5 separate regions of the Homo sapiens genome follow, and all the other regions are linked to region 3. Evidence: promoter capture Hi-C in 16 types of primary human blood cells and fetal thymus (Javierre and others, 2016). All regions are on one chromosome and are shown on one strand. The core of a region is centred on a gene start or on the middle of the fragment in contact, and the rest is flanking DNA. Distances in the headings are between cores, read along the strand shown.

The links. Contacts are between HindIII fragments. The CHiCAGO score rates a contact against its expected background, and 5 or more counts as called.
Region 1: a contact is called between a fragment that was not itself captured here and the fragment with the promoter of LINC02551 in region 3, in 6 of 17 cell types (endothelial precursors, M0 macrophages, M1 macrophages and 3 more). The highest score is 6.9, in endothelial precursors.
Region 2: a contact is called between a fragment that was not itself captured here and the fragment with the promoter of LINC02551 in region 3, in 15 of 17 cell types (M0 macrophages, total B cells, fetal thymus and 12 more). The highest score is 10.6, in M0 macrophages.
Region 4: a contact is called between a fragment that was not itself captured here and the fragment with the promoter of LINC02551 in region 3, in 1 of 17 cell types (total CD8 T cells). The highest score is 5.7, in total CD8 T cells.
Region 5: a fragment that was not itself captured here is called in contact with the fragment with the promoter of LINC02551 in region 3 in 16 of 17 cell types (megakaryocytes, endothelial precursors, total CD8 T cells and 13 more); the score reaches 14.9 in megakaryocytes.

The regions. Positions count from the first base shown.
Region 1 is chr11:130,478,651-130,481,350 of GRCh38, reverse strand. No RefSeq gene overlaps it. Among named protein-coding and RNA genes, the nearest start is that of ADAMTS15, 31 kb to the right of the region's middle. RefSeq lists an enhancer at 2,465-2,700. The HindIII fragment of the contact is 3,878 bases long and covers 1-2,700 here.
Region 2 is chr11:130,409,905-130,412,604 of GRCh38, reverse strand. ADAMTS8 (ADAM metallopeptidase with thrombospondin type 1 motif 8) reads left to right here. Exons shown (of 9, transcript NM_007037.6): 6 at 1,005-1,188. Among named protein-coding and RNA genes, the nearest start is that of ADAMTS8, 17 kb to the left of the region's middle. The HindIII fragment of the contact is 2,395 bases long and covers 57-2,451 here.
Region 3 is chr11:130,860,814-130,863,685 of GRCh38, reverse strand. It overlaps LINC02551 (long intergenic non-protein coding RNA 2551), which reads left to right and starts at 1,576. Exons shown (of 6, transcript NR_125383.1): 1 at 1,576-1,720; 2 at 1,858-1,910. RefSeq lists enhancers at 1,214-1,714, 1,715-2,215. The HindIII fragment of the contact is 6,813 bases long and covers 1-1,917 here.
Region 4 is chr11:130,352,417-130,355,116 of GRCh38, reverse strand. The region is part of intron 1 of ZBTB44-DT (ZBTB44 divergent transcript); the gene reads right to left. Among named protein-coding and RNA genes, the nearest start is that of ZBTB44-DT, 39 kb to the right of the region's middle. The HindIII fragment of the contact is 1,284 bases long and covers 741-2,024 here.
Region 5 is chr11:130,457,230-130,460,030 of GRCh38, reverse strand. The region is part of intron 1 of ADAMTS15 (ADAM metallopeptidase with thrombospondin type 1 motif 15); the gene reads right to left. Among named protein-coding and RNA genes, the nearest start is that of ADAMTS15, 10 kb to the right of the region's middle. The HindIII fragment of the contact is 4,486 bases long and covers 1-2,801 here.

The sequences.
Region 1 (2,700 bases), core at 122-2,621, 380 kb after region 3:
TATTATGCACAATGTACAGTTAATTGAAAGATACAGGGGGTATATTAAAAAATAAATCTGTTTCTACGACCTCTGCTAAAGTACATTTGAAATACCATATCGTTGATTTCACACTAGTGTACGTGAACTATCTCTGTTGTTTTTTCTGGTCTCTATTTTTTCCTTTCACTCGCCCATGTCTTCTTGGTGCCATGCTAACCACACCACACTAAGGCTGGAGGTTGAGGGATGTGATGCCAGGAACTAAGGCAGTGGGTAAGGAGGCGTGGTTGGAAGTGAGAGCAACAGGAGAAACCATCAGTCATCTCATCCCTCTGAATCCTGGCAGTACCATATTTTAGAAACTTAATCCCAAGAGGAAGTCAAGTACATCCGCCTTTCCCCTGCCCTTGTTGCATGCTCATATCTCTGAGTCAAGGAATGGCCTAATTTTATACTTCTTTTGTAAAGCAAGGAAGTCGTTGAGATGGAAAACATTAATCTGCATTTCCTCTGACATTGCTTTTATTGTCATACGCTGCACACGGTTAGCACTCAAGACCAGCTCATACTTCTCCTAGATATTTCTAGAATTTATGTCATCCTCTCCAATCCACTTACACTGCCAGGCTTTCATGGTCTTAAATCTGGATTATTGCAGGAGCCTCTTACTTGGTCTTTCTGCCAACAGTCTTTTCCTATCCCAGTCCATGCTTACTACCAGCTCACTGGAGTGGTGAGCTAATTACAGTCTGATTTAAAATATTTCCATGGCTCTCTGCTGCCTGTCAAACAAAGCAAAAACTCCCTAATGCAACATAGAAGGCCCTCCATGATCAGACCCCAGCCCAGCCTAGGCTTCAAGCCCACCACTCTCTCATGTATTCTACAGTCCAGCCACATCAAGCTGTTTTCATTCCTGACCTCCATGCCATCGTACGTGCTGGCCACACTTCCAGGAATCTCCTTATCTGCCCAACAAATTCTATTCATTCTTCAAAACTCAGCTCAAGAGCATCATTTCCTCTGACTCCTTCCCAGGTCCACTCAGTGATTCCTGCAATTGCTTCGTGTATAATTCCCATAGATCTAGAAGCATACCTCTGTTGGAGCACTTCTCATGCGCCATCATAATCATTTTCTCATGTCCATCTCCCCCAAAAAAATGTTTCTCGAGGAGTAGGCTAAGCGGTTCATTCTACAACTTCTTCAGTAAATACAGGGCTCGGAGTCCTGATGCTGCCATTTACAAGTCGGGGGAATATCTAAAGGTCCCTAACATCTTTGATCCTCAGCTTCCTGATACACGAGGAGGGGCAGTGATAGAATATAATTCATAATGTTGTTATGAACAATAAATACAATAAGAGAAGTAAAGACCTTAATAGAATGCTTATATATAGTTAATGCTGGGTGATGGCTATTATCATTATATGATTACTGTGTGCCAAGCACTTAGTGCCAAGACAATTAAAGCCTGCCCTCGAGGTCTTTAGGGTATAGCCAAAGAGACGGACAAGCAATTCGCTCAATGTCAGAAGACGCAGAGGGTGCCATGAGAGCTCAAGATGGGGCACCTGCTGTCACTAAATGTCACACCTGCTGGAAAGATTGAAAGCGGACGAATCTGAAACAAGGGAAAACAGGTACAGACTACGGATATACTCCAGTGAGACATGATGCTGGCCTGCACTACAGCAGCAGCAGTGGGAAGGAAGAAAGGGACCAAGTTTGAAGATATCCTGGAGGTGGAATCAAGTCATGTGACTGGATGAATAATGAGATGTTTGGGGTGGTCTGTGTGGGGTTGGTGGGGAGTCTGGGTGAACACAGGTGGGTGGGAGGGTTATGTATGCAGACGCAGAATCCACTGATGTGTTGGTTTTAACTGAGCAGTGAGATAGCACGTGATCCCCAAGGAAAGCGTATGAAATGCGTGAGCTGAGCAGAGGGCTGCAAGGAGCAGCAGCACCGGGCAGGCGGTGAAGATCAAACAGGACCATGTATGCAGACAGACAGTGCCTACACTGAGAAGCGTCCCCACATTTCCACCGGAGACAGGCTCCTTCATCCCTCTTGGTTTACTGTGTGTTCCCAAGGAAGCCTCTGCGTCACAAATACTCATTGACCACTGACTGTGTCCCAAGCCCTGGGCTCTGGGTGCTGTGTGTAACTGCAGCTTCAGAACCAGGTTCCCATGCACTGCAGACTCAGCCCAGGGAGGGTGCTTAGAAAAGCCATGTCATCCTCCTGAACACATTTCCAGAGCACTCTCAAAGGCTCTTTTCTCAAAATCCTCAACAACAACAAAACCACATCAGGAGTATCTGCTCAATTACCCATGGCAGAGATTCGGGGTACTCCCTGCTGAGGCCAGAATCCCAGTCCCCTGAGGTCATCTGAACTGTTGGTCAGATGTCTGGGACAGCAGTGGCTTAAGGCCCTGGACACTGTCTGGGACCGTGGCTAGGTACAGGAACGGGGAATGATACGAAGGCAATTGTTTCTAACAGCCTAGGAGTACAGCTAAAATCTCATCAAATTCCAGCCATTCCCCATGACAATATTTTCACCCTTTTCCCAAATCCAGTTTTTCACGAGGAGATTCCCTCCTCTCTTCATCTCCCTCTATCTTACCCTTTCTGCTAAAATTGTTCTCCTTTGGAAACAAATAGTTCTGTTTCTTCTTTGGAATGCCTCGGGAGGTCAGGAACTCTTATC
Region 2 (2,700 bases), core at 5-2,504, 450 kb after region 3:
TTCATTTTGAATACTCTATGAACCTTTGGGCATACAGCATTCCAAAGGGCAAAGCTTTGTTCTCATAGGTCAGTTGTAAAATGGGAAGCAGGGCCAGGCATGGTGGCTCACACTTGTAATCCCAGTACTTTGGGAGGCCGAGGCAGGTTGATCACTTGAGGTCAGGAGTTCAAGACCAGCATGGCCAACATGGTGAAACCCCATCTCTACTAAAAATACAAAAATTAGCCAGGCGTGGAGGTGTGCACCTGTAATCCCAGTTATTCGGGAGGCCGAGGCACAGGAATCATTTGAACCCAGGAGGCGGAGGTTGCAGTGAGCCGAGATCACGCCTTTGAACTCCAGCCTTGGCAACAGAGCAAAACTCTGTCAAAAAAAAAGGAAGCAATTCTGTTTCTTTCCCAAGCATTGTCCTATCACCAGAACCAGTGGCTGGTAGACTATGGCAACACCTCGCAGGGATGTTTCCTTTAGACCAGAGTTCCTCTGCCTTGGCACTAGGGACACTTAGGACTGGATAATTGTTACCGTGGGGCCTGTGCATTGCTGGATGTGGAGCAGCATCACTGGCCTCTACCCACTAGATGTGGTCACGTACACCCTCCACAGCTGTAGCCACCAGAGTATCTCCAGACATTGCCAAATGTCCCCTGGAGGGCAGAATTCGCCCCAACGGAGAACCACTGCATTATATGCAACCTTATTCCCATAAAAGGGTGTCATTCATTCATTCAGCAGATAGCCTATTGAGCACCTTACTAAGCATAAGGCACTGTTTTAGACACTGAGGAGTCAGTAGTGAATGAGTCCAGCCTGGTCTCTGTGCTCACAAAGCCATGCAGGCCACACAGTCATTAAACAAATGATTGAGGCAGTTTACGGCACTCCATGCACCAAGATGATAATGACTAGATGAGGAAGCCAGGGCATTGGCCACCCAGTGACACAGATACTGAAGCCTCCTGGCCTTTGCTCCTCATTCAGTGTGCCATTGTATGTTGCAGCCCGTGGCAGATGGAGGCTGGGCACCGTGGGGACCCTGGGGAGAATGTTCTCGGACCTGTGGAGGAGGAGTACAGTTTTCACACCGTGAGTGCAAGGACCCCGAGCCTCAGAATGGAGGAAGATACTGCCTGGGTCGGAGAGCCAAGTACCAGTCATGCCACACGGAGGAATGCCCCCCTGACGGTAATTACCACTCAGGGCCGCCCCTGCCAGAGCAGCTACTATCATTGCTATGACGCATCCCCAGAGGATGTGTAAAGTGGGAGTGAAGTGGGTGTCCCGGGATATAGAGTTACTCCCAGAGGGGAGTAAATTGGGTCTCCTGGGATGTAGAGTTTTGCCTGTGATCTCCACCTAAATGGGCTCTGCAAGGTTCCAATCCCAGGGGCAGCTCTCAGGGACCCGGGACAGCTCTCATAGTGTTCAGAGAGCCTGGCAAAGTCAAGGAGAGAAATTACGCTCATCTTCCAAGATGTGGAGAGGAGGACATCACTCCCAACCAAACTTATTGGGGAGGAGCCTCTGCAGAGGGGCTGGTGTCTAGGAAACTAATCCTCCTGGAGGCATAGGAACCCTCATCTGTGTGCAGAATGGAAGCATTTTCCAAAGCAAGTGTCAGAGCCAAACCTCCAAGGTCTTTCTAGCCAAAATTCAGCCCAGGGCAGAGGGAGGATTTCTGAATCTGATTCCTGTTCACATTCCTTCTGAGAAGAGTTGCCCATCTTCCCTTGGGAACATGGCAACTGTTTGACAGAATCTTCCCAGGAAGGAATACTACCTCTCCCTCCCCTTGGCATATTCCTATCCCCAGTACCTGCTGGAAACCATGAACATTAACTTAGAGGCAGTAAAGGGGCAGCAGCAAACTCGTGAGAGGGAAATCATTACAAGGTTTTTCCCCACCATCCCATCCAACTGCCCAGTGTGCAGCTCCAGGAAGGATTGGCAGGCAAGAAAAATCAGGCAGAGCCTTAGGAGAGATTCAACCACGGGAAAAGACACTGGCATTGGGTTGATGTCTCAGGAGAATCTGTAGGCTTTGCGGTTTCACAAGACAAGAAGGATCCACAATGGTTTGAGGCTCTAGAAACTTTGCCCTGGAATTGTATGAGAGTTTGCCTGGCATACAGGGTGAGACGTTGCTGGGAAAGGGGGAGGATGAGAATGAATATAGGGTGCAAGGTAGGTGTGGACGAAAAGTGATGCCATGATGTCAGATGCACCAAAGTCTGCCATTACTGTCGAGTATTTTTTAGTATTTTTTGTGTGTCTAGAACTATAAAAATGTATGAAAATGTAAAAGGCATGGTCTCTGTCCCTAAGGAGCTTGTAGTCCAATTAGAGACCCAAATCCCTTTAACACAGCCATTACATTTCAATGGATGAGTCACAGACCCTAGGTTGGTGAGGCGCTCGGAGAAAGGAAAGGCTGGGTGAGCGGAAGCTTTGAAAGGAGTTAGGACTGAGCAGAGTCTGGAGGACTGAGATGGGTGAGGTGTGAGGGGACCTGCCAGGGTGGTGGAAAGGTGTGAGAAGGGCCCTCATTCACTTAGGTGGAATCAAGCAAAGCACACCACTATGTCAAGGCCAGACCACAGAGGTCCTTGAAGGCTGACACAGTATCTGGGAGTTATCTGTGCCACCTGTCCCATTAAGTCACCTGGAAGCTCCTGCAGACACAGCCCAGACCCCCTC
Region 3 (2,872 bases), core at 327-2,826:
ACCACTCTGTGTGATAATGTGACATGCAGCCCACCATGGGATGATGTAAGGCTTCTTTTCACAGAACCGAAGAGCGTTTGAACTATAAAGGTCCTTGAAAGTAGGTCACCGTCCCAATTGTACAGAGTAGGAAACTGAGTCCCAGAGAGGGAAAACAGATGGAAATGAACACTTGGAAAGTTAATATCTTTGATTTTTAATACTTCTTCCTAGAGCGTAGTCCGATGTAACAGTTCATCTGGCGAGATTCTGAGTTACCAATTTTTTATGGGTTTTGCGTTAGAATAATTTTATAATAATCAAAAGTAAATGAGAACAAGGCCAATAGCATAAAATTTCACTCCTTCACACTCCTAAGTGTTTTTCGAGGCACTGCGGAAAAGGAAGCATCTATCGTGGTTGGTCCAGCATCCCTTCAGTAGCTTAGATCTGCAGAAATACTGTTGGAACATCGTTTCTTTATTCTTCCCATCCTTTGTGTGTTAGGCCAAACCCTGAGGACTGTCTGCCTTGGAATAGAGAGGAAATCCAAGCATATGTGCAAAGTTGAGCTGCACTTTCAGCCCCAGGTCTTCAATGGGCCTTCTCCACAGGCACCTGTGAAATGCCAGCAGGGTCGTTGCATGTAGAGGGATCCCACTCAGTGCACCCCTGGGAATGGCTCAGCCGCACTGTGGGTGTAAGCATTAATCACACAACAGCCATTCTACATATTCCTTTTTTATTCTCCAGAGAGTGCCAGGAAAAGTCCTGCCCAGTCAAAAGTCTTCTCTTGCAGCTGGGTGTTGAGGGTGATTGCCCCTCTCTCTCCTTGTAAGATTATGTTTGACAGCAGTGAAAACCAACAGTTTAACAGCAGTAATCTCTTGGCAGGACAGATTGATATGAGCCTTGTCCCAAAACAAAGTAATCCTTTCAGGGAAGTGTATTTCAAGTTGAGCTCACGTTCCCAAGATGCTGAGATTCTTATGTAGCTGACACCGGAGCTGAGGCTGAGCCCCAGCCAGGGATATCCAACGATTGCCAGTAACACCACGGAACTGAGTGAAGATTCAGGGGCTGAGTGTGTTCCTGAGTGCTTCAAACCGGGGGACCTGGAAACCAGAGGACTCCTGGGGAAAGGCTGTCAACTCCAGCCTGCTCTTCCTAAATGGCCTTGTTAGTAGTGACTTCAGCCCTGGCGGTGAGGCATGTGGGTCAGAATAACATTCCCTTTCTTTTCCCTTCACCTCTTTTTTCTCCACGGTTCCTTTTCATAACTTCTTTATTTGCTGCCTAGAGGAGCTTTCTGGACATTTTGTCTCCAGGGAGCGTGACATGTCACCTGTTTCTCACCTCATATGCCTCTGATCTTCTACACCAAGGTAGCTATAAAGGCTTGCTTTCTAGGCTGGGTTTCCCTGCACAGGCCCACTGAACCACTCAAACCTCAGAGGTGGAAGTGCCCAGCGGGCCTCATGGTCAGCTGGGGATAACGGAGTCATTTTCGCAGCCCAACTTCTGAAATTCCACAAGAGGGCGCCCAAGGTCTCCCAAGTCCGGCCACGCCCGGTGGCCTTGAGGCCGGAAGGTGGCGCTGTTGCTTTAGCCATCAAGAAAGGCAAGGCTGGGGACGCCGCATCCCCGGGTGCGGAGGGCGATGCCTAGGGGCGATGCTGTGCCTGTGGCGGCCAAACAGTGCCACCCACTCCGGGAAACAAAGCCAAGCGCCGGACGCTAGGTATGGGAGAGAAGAGCCACCCTGACCCAAGGGAGGGCTCTAGGTGAGGAGCCAGCGTCCTCCGGCTCCGGTTCCCGCTGCACTGCTGCTTTGCCAGGAGGCCTTGAAGAAAGTCATTCATTCTTTCTCCCCCACAGCTTCCTAGGTCTTCCACGTGTTCAACGGAAATTCACAAATTCTCTAGTAGCAGGTAAGCTTCGGATTCAGGAATGAAAAAGACAAAGCCCTGTCCTGGGTGAATTCATTATCCATGGACAGGGGAGGCAGGCGCATCATCGGAAAGTCACCGTGTGAGGAGGGACGTGGAGGCACAGAGGTGCACACGGAAGCCCCCAGAAGAAGGACTTCCCCCAGCCTGGGGAAGCTGGGCGGGCAGGGGTGGGCCAGCGAAGCCTTCCCGGTGATTCTAGGCAGTCTTAAAAGGTGTTAGGAGTCAACTTGGGAAAGATTAGGAAAAGGCAGTGTAGGCCAAGGGACGGCCGGAGCAGAGGCCGCGCGGCAGTGCTGGCATGTGGGTGGGCGGTGGTAAGGAAGGCGGTGGATGAGGATGCAGGGAGCAGATGGGCTGCGTTGCAGGCTGGGCCCCTATGGCCCTCAATAGGTTTTGTGGTCAACATGCTTTGTGGAGTTACAACAAGCAATGGTGGCCCTAACACATATATTCATTTATAGGTCCATAAATCTGCATTCATAGAGATAAATGAGTAATCCCCAGGGTGAAGGAGAACTGGAAGAGACACTGGAGCCAGGTCCACCCTTGGCCAGGTTTTACCTTGACTTGGCGTCATCACTAGGCACTGGTTTTTTTCTCTCTCCTTCTTCCCTGACCAAGAAATACAACAAATTCGTTATGATATCGACTTGTCATGATCCGAAATTGAAGAGCAACCATATATTTATTTGGCAAGATAAATACACACATTCTTTACATAAGATTAGTAGCCACCAGTTTCTAAAAGCATATATTGTCATTTATTTGCCAAAACAAAGGTACATGCCCACATGTTATAGATGGGAAAGATGAGGCCCAGAGCTCGGGTGCATGGCTGAGGTCACCCAATTAGTGGATGGTGGTGCTGGCACTTCTGTCTGGGCTGCTTCACCTTGTCACACACTCTCCACTCCATGCAGGCCGCACCTCTCTAGCAGGGT
Region 4 (2,700 bases), core at 133-2,632, 510 kb after region 3:
GTTATAAGATAATTCTATGAACAACTGTTTGCCAACACACACTGGGTAACCTAGATAAAGTGGACAGATTCCTAGAAATACACAACCTACCAAAACTGACTCAGGAAGAAATAGAAAATGTAAGAAATAGGAAATAGAATACTATAACTAGTAGGGAGATTGCCTTAGTAATCAAAACATCTTAACAAAAAAAAAGCCCAGGATCAGTTGGCTTCACTGGTGAATATTACCAAATACTTAAGAAGCACTAATAGCAATCCTTCTCAAACTCTTCAAAAGAATTGAAGAGAAGAAACTACTTACAAATCTCATTCTATGTGGCCAGCATTACCCTCATATCAAAGCCATACAAAGACACTACACAAAAAGAAAACTACAAATCAATGTCCCCTATGAATATTGACACAGAAATCCTCAACAAACTACTATCAAAAAATTCAGTAGCATATTAATAAGGAGCTATACACCATTACCAAGTAGGTTTTATTCCTAGAATGCAAGAACAGTTCAACACACAAAAAATCAATCAGTATAATACACCATATCAACAGGATGAAGGAGAAGAAAACCACATGATCATCTCAATTGATGCAGAAAAAGCATTTGACAAAATTCAACACCCTTTCATGATTTAAAAAAATCAATAAACTAGGAATAAAAGGAAATCTTTTCAACTTGATAAAAGCTATTATTAAAAACCAATGGCTAACATCATACTTGATACTAAAAGACTAAAAGCTTTCCCTCCAAGATTAGGAATAAGACAAGGATGCCTGGTTTTGCCACTTCTATTCAAAACAAAACTGGAAATTGTAGCCAGAGCAACGAGGCAGGACAAAGAAATAAAAGGCAACCAAACTGAATCAACTGAAGTAAAATTATCTGTGTTTACAGATGACATAATCTGAAATGTAGGAAAAAGTAAATATTCTACCAAAAACCAGTTAGACCTAATAAACAAATTCATAAAACTTGTAGGATACAAAATCAACACTCAAAAATCAGTTGTATTTCTACATATTAGTAATGAGCAATCTGAAAAAGAAATTAAGAAAGCAATTGCATTTATGATAACATCAAAAAGAATAAAATGCCTAGAATAAAATTAATCAAGGAGGTGAAAGATTTGTCCACTGAAAAACTACAAAAGCTGCTGAAAGAAACGAAAGGTAAATGGAAAAACATCCCATGTTCATAGATTGGAAGCCTTAATTAATATGTCAATATTACCCAAAGCAATTCAATGCTATCTTTATCAAAATCCCAATAATGTTTTTTGCAGAAATAAAAACAATCCATCCTAAAAATTAATATGGGCCTCGAGGGACCCCAAATAGCCAAAACAATGTTGAAAAATAACAAATTTTTCAACTCACATTTTCTGATGGTGCTACACCATCACAGTGTGATACTGCCATAAAGACAGATCTACAGACCAAAGGAATAGAATAGAGACCCCAGAAATAACCTGCTGCACATACAATCAAACAATTTTCAACTGGGTTGCCAAGGCCATTCAATGGAGAAAGTAGTGTTTTCAAGAAATGATATTGGGAAAACTGGATATTCACATGCAAAAGAATGAAGTTACACCCTTATCTTACACAATATGCGAAAATTGACTCAAAATGGATCAAAAGTCTAAACATTAGAGATAAAACTATAAAACTCCCAAAAGAAAACATAGTGAGCCAGGTGTGGTGGCTCATGCCTGTAATCCCAACACTTTGGGAAGCGAAGAGTGGCAGATCACTTGAGGTCAGGAGTTTGAGACCAGCCAGGCCAACTTGGTGAAACCCCATCTCTATTAAAAATACAAAAATTAGCTGGCATGGTAGCATATGCCAGCAAAAATTAGCTGGCATGGTAGTCTTAGCTACTTGGAAGGCTGAGGCAGGAGAATTGCTTGAACCCAGGAGACGGATGTTGCCATGAGCCAAGACTGCGCCACCTCACTCCAGCCTAGGTGACAGAGTGAGACTCCGTCTCAAAGAAAAAAAGAAAAGAAAACATAGTGGAAAGCTTCATGACATTGGATTTGTCAATGAATTCTTGGATATGACATGAAAAGCACAGGCAAAAAAAGAAAAAAAAATAGATAAATCGGACTTCATCAAAATTTAAAAATTTTGTGTATCAAAGAAAACTATGAAGGGCTGGGTGAGATGGCTTACACCTGTAATCCCAGCACTTTGAGAGGTTGAGGTGGGTGGATCACCTGAGGTCAGGAGTTCGAGACCAGTTTGGCCAACATGGTAAAACCCCTATCTATACTAAAAATACAAAAATTAGCCAAGTGTGGTGGCATGCACCTGTAGTCCCAGATACTGGGAGGCTGAGGCACGAGAATTGCTTGAACCTGGGAGGTGGAGGTTGCAGTGAGCTGAGATTGCACCACTATACTCCAGCCTGAGCAACAGAACAAGATTCCATCTCAAAAAAAAAAAAAAAAAGAAAAAGAAAAAAAAGAAAGAAAGAAAGAAAGAAAACTACGAAAAAAGCAAAAATGCAACCCATAGAAAAGGAGAAAATATTTGTAAGTCATGTAACTGAGAAGGGATTAATATCCAGAATACATCTTATTCGTAAAACTCCTACGATTCAACAATAACAACAAAATTTGTTTGAAGTAGGTAAAAGACTCAAATAGACGTTACTCTAAAGAAGATAAACAATTGGTCAATAAACACACGAAAAGAT
Region 5 (2,801 bases), core at 228-2,727, 400 kb after region 3:
CCCTATTTAATCCTCACAACATCCCACTGAAATAACGACTATTACTACCACCTTCCACAGGCAAAGAAGCATGTGTCTGCATGCATGTGCACGTATATGCAAGGCCACATGTGCATCTGTGTACATGCTGGCAAGGGGCGAAGGTGGGCAGCAGCACAGCGCAGGGAGCCAGGAGCCAGGGGGCATGGGAGGAAAAGCGGTCAGAGTACAGAAAATCAGCAAAATTTAATCCAAAGCACTCAGAGGTTTACCACCTGAGCAGTCAAACTTGGCTTCCCACGGTCAGATGATAGTCACACCTCCTAATGAGTGAACAGTTATTCCGAGGGTGACCAGCCTGAACCCGGGTGCACCAGAGGCAGTGATGTGTGCCCTGCACACCCAGCCAGGTCTGCCACCTGTGCTTGCTGGAAGCACTACCTCCACTTCTAGGAGCCCCATGGAGGACTTCAAATGCCCTTCTCTTCCCATATTCTTTCGTCTTCAAAGACCCACTCTCCCAGAAAGTTTTCCTTCCCAAGAGCTCTGAAACCTAGAAAACAACCACTGTCAAAACTTGGGAGGGGCCTGGGCGCAGTGGCTCATGCCTGTAATCCCAGCACTTTGGGAGGCCAAGGCAGGCAGATCGCTTAAGTCTAGGAGTTCAAGACCAACCTGGGAAACATGGTGAGACCCTGTCTCTACAAAACATAAACAAAATTAGCCAGGCATGATGGTGCACACCTGTAATCCCAGCTCTGCCTCCCAGGTTCAAGCGATTCTCCTGCCTCAGCCTCCCTAGTAGCTGGTATTACAGGCACCTGCCACCATGCTCAGCTAATTTTTGTATTTGTAGTAGAGATGGGGTTTCGCCATGTTGGCCAGGCTGGTAGGAGGAGGCTGAGGTAGGAGGATCACTTGAGCCTGGGAGGGTAATCTACAGTGACCCGTGATCACGCCACTGCATTCCAGCCTGGGTGACAGAGCAAGACTCTGTCTCAAAAAAAAAAAAAAAAAAAAAAAAAACACTTGGGAGGGGACCTTCACCCGACCAGCAGTTTAGGGAATGTGACAGCTGAGAAACATGGATCAGCGTGTGAACTGTGGGGAAGGGAGCCAAGATGAGGGCAGGGATGAAGGCTCTTGCAAGGGCATAGTGAAGGATGTAGGTGTAGGACGGGTGTGGTGTAGGACCCAGCAAGGCTGGAGCTCTGGACATTCTAGCCTAGCAGTTGCAGCCTGCGGGGGCAGGCACCTACCCTTGCCTCTGGGCTGCCCTGCACACTCACTGCTCCCTGTGTAAGAGGGAGAGGGCGCAGAAATAAGAATCAAGAAGTCTAGATTCCGGTCCTGGCCCTATCACTAAGTAGATGTGTGACTTTATCCAAGTCCTCTCTCTTCGGGGCCTTGGTTTCCTGCTCTGGGGAAGGGCCAACTTTCAACTAGAGCCTGAATCAACCAGTGCTTTCAGCCTCTGCTCCTTCCCCAGTCCCAGAGCATGCAGCCCCTTCTGGCCCTGTAGGTTATAAAGGGAACCCACAGAATGACATATTTTTAGAACCCCAAGGAACATCTTGTCTACTGACCCAAGTCATGTAGTTGACAGCACTCGCTCTCAGAAAAGTGGAAGTCACCCACGTGGAGATTCAGAGTCCTGTTCCCCGGCCCCGCTCTTCAGAAATGCCTAGACCAGGCAGGATGCAGTGGCTCGGGCCTGTAATCCTAGCACTTCGGGAGGCCAAGGCGGGAGGACGACTTGAGGCCAGGAGGTCAAGACCAGCCTGGGCAGCGTAACAAGACCCCATCTCTACAAAAATTAAAATTTAAAAAAGAAAGAAAGAAACCGCTAGACCAGATTGAATGCTCAGACTGGGATCTAGAGGGCGTCTGGAACTCAGCCACCCCGCAGCCGCCTCTGTGGCTGGGAAGTCCTTACGGCCAAAAGCCTCCTTCCTCCTAGGGAGGGTGGATTTTCTCTGGAGCAAAGACATGCAGCTGCAGGCCCTTCTTGGCCAGAAGCAACCTGTTCTTTCCATCAAGAAGTCCCGGTTTCCCTGGATCAAATGAGAGGAACAAGGAAAGAGCCGGCAAATTTCCTGAGGGTAAGAGTGGCTCTGGAAGCAGCCGTCTTGCAGTAACCAGCGTCTTCACTGTGGGAAGACACAGCTGTATGGGGTCAGAAGCTCTGCCTGTCCTCCTCCCCACCCCGGCAGGGACTCAATGAAGAACCGCTGGGCCTCTGCACTTTGAACGCCTACGAGTGCTTATACAGGGGCCCAGCAGTGCCTCCTTTGTGGCATCAAAAATCTCCACCCTTCTGGAATGAACTCAGAGGCACTAAAACTGCCTTAACCTCTTCAGCCCAAGTGCTTGCCTCCAAAAAACAGAAGCTGTTCTGCCTTCTTCCTCCCAGAAGGTGTAGGTATTCCTAACCCAGCCCCTACCTGCCTCACGATTCCCAGCAATTGGCTGTTTTTCTTTGTAGCTGCAGCCACTTTTCCAGATGATCCTGGAATCATCTTGGCCAGGAACCTTAATCCTCCTGGACTGTTATTTTCTAACTGTCCCTTCTTATAAAATAATTTAGGATTGGAGCCACACCTTAAATAAATAAACAAGGATAACATCTGACAGTAGCTTGTTTACCAGTGTCACTCCATACACACCTCCACCACGATTCCCACCAGCTGCCATCCCTGTGAACCACCTTCCTACCTCTTCTCATTTCCCAGGCATGTACCAAGATGCTCAATGTTTTCCAGCAGTACAAAGACAGAGGGATGCACAAAAATCAAGCACATTAACTTTTTTTTTTTTTTTTG